Regions from separate parts of the Homo sapiens genome. Here region 2 is linked to region 1. The links are contacts of gene promoters, found by promoter capture Hi-C in blood cells and fetal thymus (Javierre and others, 2016). All regions are on one chromosome and are shown on one strand. Each heading gives the region's core, a stretch centred on a gene start or on the middle of the fragment in contact. The rest is flanking DNA. Distances are from core to core; before and after follow the strand shown.

Evidence for each region. Contacts are between HindIII fragments. The CHiCAGO score rates a contact against its expected background, and 5 or more counts as called.
Region 2: a contact is called between the fragment with the promoter of PSMB4 here and a fragment that was not itself captured in region 1, in 4 of 17 cell types (erythroblasts, M2 macrophages, endothelial precursors and 1 more). The highest score is 5.6, in erythroblasts.

Annotation. Positions count from the first base shown.
Region 1 is chr1:151,241,794-151,244,742 of GRCh38, forward strand. It overlaps PIP5K1A (phosphatidylinositol-4-phosphate 5-kinase type 1 alpha), which reads left to right. Exons shown (of 16, transcript NM_001135638.2): 13 at 330-476; 14 at 645-774. Among named protein-coding and RNA genes, the nearest start is that of PSMD4, 11 kb to the right of the region's middle. The HindIII fragment of the contact is 1,047 bases long and covers 1,040-2,086 here.
Region 2 is chr1:151,397,799-151,400,844 of GRCh38, forward strand. PSMB4 (proteasome 20S subunit beta 4) reads left to right here and starts at 1,775. Exons shown (of 7, transcript NM_002796.3): 1 at 1,775-1,929; 2 at 2,183-2,389; 3 at 2,644-2,790; 4 at 2,966-3,046. The coding sequence starts at 1,790. RefSeq lists enhancers at 1,132-1,854, 1,455-1,504, 1,855-2,576 and a silencer at 2,345-2,502. The HindIII fragment of the contact is 7,561 bases long and covers 1-3,046 here.

The sequences.
Region 1 (2,949 bases), core at 313-2,812:
CCATCTCAAAAAAAAAAAAAAAAAGGAATTATGCAATAGGGTACATTTCATCTGATGGAAGTAAAGCAGTCATCAAGGCTCCATGTTGGGGGGTTAGGTGTGGATATGTTTCCTTTCTTCTAGGTTTTCATGCCTCTTGGAAAGTGAAGTGAGCTAACACCTTGTTCTCTGAATAGTAATTCATAGGCCTGTCTTTGTTGACATTAGCCTTTTCACTTTTCAGACCAACTTTGGGTGTGTGTTGGGGATACTAGCAATTATTTGTATCTATGTCTTGGTAATAGTTGCTAAGGTAGTTGCTAAGTAGGCTCTCTCTTTCCCTTTTGAAGTGAAGCCTTCTCCTTCCAAAAAGTTTCGGTCTGGCTCATCTTTCTCTCGGCGAGCAGGCTCCAGTGGCAACTCCTGCATTACTTACCAGCCATCGGTCTCTGGGGAACACAAGGCACAAGTGACAACAAAGGCAGAAGTGGAGCCAGGTCAGCGCTAGGGCTGGGGTCCCCATGTGATTGGGTACTCCCTCCCTTCCTTCTGAGCCTTTATCTTGTCTGGCCAGGACCTCTGCTCCCATTTCTATCCAGGAAGCCTAGCTGCTACATATTTTTCCTTGTATTTACTGTACCCCATCTTCTCTATCTTTTTTCCAGGCGTTCACCTTGGTCGTCCTGATGTTTTACCTCAGACTCCACCTTTGGAGGAAATCAGTGAGGGCTCGCCTATTCCTGACCCCAGTTTCTCACCTCTAGTTGGAGAGACTTTGCAAATGCTAACTACAAGGTTGGTTTATTGGCCCCTTTCTCCATATAATCTTATCTCTCTTTTCAAGTCCTTGGAAACCTCTATAATTTGATTGCATCATAATAAATTACCCCAAAGATTAGTGGCTTAAAATAACAAACATATATCATACTTTCTGTGGGTCAGGAATCCAGGCCCAGCTTAGCTGGGTCCTCTGGCTCAAGATTTCTCATGAGGTGGCATTTAAGCTGTTGGCCAGGGCTGGGGTCTCATCTGAAGGCTCAAACAGGAAGATCTGCTTTTAAGCTTATTTATGTGGTTACTGGTAGGATTCTGTTCCTTGTGGGTTGCTGAACTGAGGGCCTTAGTTCCTTGCTGGCTGTTGTCTGGGGGCTTCCCTCAGTTCTTTGCTACATGGACTTCTCCATAGGACAGCTCAGAACATGGCACCTGGGCTATCTGACAAGTGAACAAGAGAGCATGTGCCTATGCAGAAACCATGGCCTCTTATAACTTAATCTCAGAATTGACATTCTACTTGTGCTACATTCTGTTCACTAAATGCAGCCCACACTCAAGAGGAAGGAATTACCCATGGGTGTGAATACCAGGAGGTGCAGGGATCATTGTGAGCCATCTTAGAAACTGCCTGTCATAGTCTGCTCTCTGGTCTCCAGTAATTTACATACCTCCATGTCGAAAATACACTGACCCCCTCCCAGGGTCTCATCCCATTGTAGCGTTAGCTCAGAGTCCAGAGTTTTATTACCTAAATTAGGTCCGGTTGGATGAGCCCCCCAGGTATAGTTCCTTAAGCACAGCTCCTCAAGTACAGTTCTTCTCAATCTGTGAACTTGTGGAACCAAAGAGACAAGTTATCCTTTCCCCATGTACCTAGCATACAATGGTGAGACAGGCATTAGATAACCAATATACACATTTCTGTACATAAAAGGGGAGAATGGGAGGCACAAAAAGGAGTCATTGATTTTATTTGCTGTTCCAAAATCCAGGAAATGTTGGAGTTTCTTTTATCAGGCCTCAAAGCAGAAGAATAATTCTCCGTGGTTCTTGGCTCTACCCTCTAGACTCTTGGTTTTGTCTTCTGAGTCTTCCTTTTTCATCAAAGCTAGAGTGTGTTTTTACCTGAGTTCTTTTCTCAGGCTGCTTCTTTCCAGTAGAATTTTAGGGGAACTAGTGGTCTCTATTTTGTACTGTTTCTGTCCTTTTTGATCCAAGATGGCAGTGTTTCTACTGATACAGAAGATTTTGTGGGCCTCCTGTGATTCTCCTTGGGATTTACTCCATTAGACAAAAGCCACACTCATAAATATCTTCTTTATGAGACCTAAGCTTCTTACAGACTCTGTTTTTCGGTTGAAAGGATCTGTGAAACATAATCTTCTGAACAGCCTTTTGTATGACTGAATAGCACAATCAGCCCTCCGTATCCACAGGTTCCACATCCCAGATTCAACCAACTGTGGACTGAAAATACTTGAGAGCCTGGTGTGGTGGCTCATGCCTGTAATCCCACCACTTTGGGAGGCTGAGGTGGGAGGATTGCTTGAGGCAGTTTGAGACCAGCCTGGTCAATATAACGAGACCCCATCCCTTTGAAAAAAAAAAAGAAAGAAACGAAAAAATACTGAAAAAAAAAAAAAAAGTCGTGAAAATGTTATGTTGTTGCTGATATGTACTGTACAGTTAGGCCTGTACTTAACATGTACAGACTTTTCTTGTCATTATTCCCTGAACAATATAGTATAACAACTATTTACATAGCATTTACATTGTATTAGTTATCATAAATAATCTAGGAATGATTTAAAGTATATGGAGGGCCAGGCGTGATGGCTCACGCCTGTAATCCCAACACTTGTGAGAGGTAGAGGCGGCCAGATTACTTGAGCCTAGGAGTTTAAGATCAGCCTGAGCAACATGGCGAAACCCCATCTCTACCAAAAATACAAAAAAATTAGCCAGGCGTGGTGGTATGTTCCTGTAGTCCAAGTTACTCAGGAGGCTGAGGCAGGAGGATCGCTCGAACCCCGGAGGCAGTGGTTGCAGTGAGCCGAAATCGCGCCACTGGACTCTAGCCTGGGTGACAGAGCGAGACCCTGTCTCAAAAGAAAAATAAATAAAAATAAAGTATATGGAGGATGTGTGTGAGTTATATGCAAATACCATAGCATTGTATATAAGGGACTTGTG
Region 2 (3,046 bases), core at 525-3,024, 160 kb after region 1:
CATGCCACTGCACTCCAGCCTGGGTGACAGAGCCAGACCTTGTCTCAAAAAACAAACAAACAAAAGACACCTAAGGACAGTGTTGAGGATGGTATCCTCACCAGTCTCTGTGGGAGGATGGAATCCTAACTTCCATAAATGCCAGCTAGCAGACATCATTGACCTAAGCACATTTACATTGACTAATTCTGTAAATGTTCACTTCCCTGACTCTACTGACCCTCTGTCTCACTGTCCCCTAACCTCATTTTCCCTATAAAATACCCATTACTTGCATACAAATTGCAGTTGAGTTCAGTTCATGCTGAACTGTTTTTCCTTATTGTAGTAGTTATTACTGATTGAAATCTGTCCTTTCCACTTTAGTGTCCGGCTTTGTTTATCTTTGACAAAATTCACCAGTTTGATTCAAGACAGTTTCCAGCCCCTGCTATGGAGTTACACTGAGAAGGAAACCCCTGGAATTTAGTTTCACCCCTACACTTCCAATGGAATTTTTCTGTTTCTTTAGAGGTGGGCAAGGGCCCTTGACAATAAGGAAACTTTCAGACTTGTCTAAGGTCCCACAGAGAGTGCTTGATCCACCTGAGCTATCACACCCCACAGGGTATACACAAGTGTATTCTTTTTTTTTTTTTTTTTTTTTTTTTTTTTGTGACAGGGTCTCGCTCTGTTGCCCAGGCTGGAGTGCAGTGGCGCCACCTTGGCTCACTGCAACCTCCCTCGGGTTCAGGCGATTCTCCCACCTCACCCTCCCAAGTAGCTGGAATTACAGGCCTGGCTAATTTTTTGTTTTGTTTTGTTTTGTAGAGGTGAGGTCTCACCATGTTGCCAAGGCTGGTCTTGAATTCCTGGGTTCAAGTGATCCTCCCGTCTTGGCCTCCCAAAGTTCTGGGATTACAGGCATGAGCCACCGCACCCGGCCCTGATTCCTTTTTTTATTCTAGCTTCAAGATTCAGTTCTACCGTTATCGGCTGTGTGACTGGGTAAATCACTACACCGCAAGCCTCGGTTTCCTATTTACCAAATGGGTCGAATAATGCCTGCCACATGGGGCTGCTCTGAGGAGTACAGATGTAAGAGATCCTGTGTTCACTGATATTTTCATGTGGGCTTTTTGATAATGATACAAAAGGAACATGAGAACTGTGACTTCTAGGCCGGGCGAGGCGGCTTACTCCTGTAATCCCAGCACTTTGGGAGTCCGAGGCAGGCGGATCACCTGAGATCCGGAGTTCGAGACCAGCCTGGCCAACATGGTGAAACCCCATCTCTAGCAAAAATACAAAAAATTAGCCAGGCGTGGTGGCAGGCGCCTGTAATCCCAGCTACTCGGGAGGCTAAGGCACGAGAATCGCTTGAATCTGGGAGGCGGAGGTTGCAGTGAGCCGAGATCGCGCCACTGCATTCCAGCCTGGGGGCCAGAGCGAGACTCCGTCTCAAAAAAATAAAAAATAAAATAAAAAATTGTGACGTCTCACTCAGGATCAGCGTCTTTAAGTGGCCACCTCCCCACCCCACCTTCATGCCTCCCTCCTCCTTGAATCGTGTGTTAGAACGCTGTGATCTGGTCCAAACTCCACGGAGATGCGATGCGATGCGAAGCGATGTTGGGCAATTTCAACTCCCTGTCTCGGTCGCCACCTAGGATTACTGCATGTTCAGCTACGACCTCATCAACATGGCTGCTGGAAGTCGTCTACAGGAAAAAGAAAGAAATGACACTGAAGGATCACTTCCGCTTCCGTTGGCGCAAGCGCTTTCATTTTTTCTGCTACCGTGACTAAGATGGAAGCGTTTTTGGGGTCGCGGTCCGGACTTTGGGCGGGGGGTCCGGCCCCAGGACAGTTTTACCGCATTCCGTCCACTCCCGATTCCTTCATGGATCCGGCGTCTGCACTTTACAGAGGTCCAATCACGCGGACCCAGTAAGTTCTCGGCGCTTTCGTTTGCGTAGCGGGAGGGACCGTGGGGCCTGGTGCTGCCGGCTGGTTTTGAGAGCCCGGGAAGGTGAGGCGGGGACCCCGGGGGCGCGCGAACGGCAGGGGAGCTCAGGGCGCGGAGTCCTGGAGAATGCAGAATAATTGGAAGGAATTATAGAAAATCAGAAGCGCAGCTCAGTGCGCGGAAAGAGGGCGCAGTCCATCCCCCCTCTCAGCTCCCACCGTTCTCACTCTTTAGGAACCCCATGGTGACCGGGACCTCAGTCCTCGGCGTTAAGTTCGAGGGCGGAGTGGTGATTGCCGCAGACATGCTGGGATCCTACGGCTCCTTGGCTCGTTTCCGCAACATCTCTCGCATTATGCGAGTCAACAACAGTACCATGCTGGGTGCCTCTGGCGACTACGCTGATTTCCAGTATTTGAAGCAAGTTCTCGGCCAGATGGTGTAAGTCATCCAGAGAACAGGAGAGTGGTTCCCAAGTAGAGAGGGGAGTCCCCTGTTTTTTATTCCCTTCGATGGGATGGGGGGACTTGTTGCAGCGGGGGACTGGAAGAGTTGTTGGAGGTGGGCGATCTGTGTTTGCAATAAAGTTTTTGGCATTAGGTGTAAAATGGGGGAAGGTGTGGTAACTTCTTTTGGGGATGGGTGGAGACCCCGACTTAATTCTCTCCCTTTTCTCACAACCAATTCCTTTTAAGGATTGATGAGGAGCTTCTGGGAGATGGACACAGCTATAGTCCTAGAGCTATTCATTCATGGCTGACCAGGGCCATGTACAGCCGGCGCTCGAAGATGAACCCTTTGTGGAACACCATGGTCATCGGAGGCTATGCTGATGGAGAGAGGTTCATATGAATACAAATAACTTATTTCCTTTACCACCCAACCTAGTACCTGTGTAGTATCTCTTCTGTCTCTTCTCCCCAAGTGAATCCCACTTTAACTCAGACCCCATGGTCCCCTTCTTCAGCTAAGATGAATCTAAGGTGAAATGAGTTTTGACCCATTGTGTCCTGTTAGCTTCCTCGGTTATGTGGACATGCTTGGTGTAGCCTATGAAGCCCCTTCGCTGGCCACTGGTTATGGTGCATACTTGGCTCA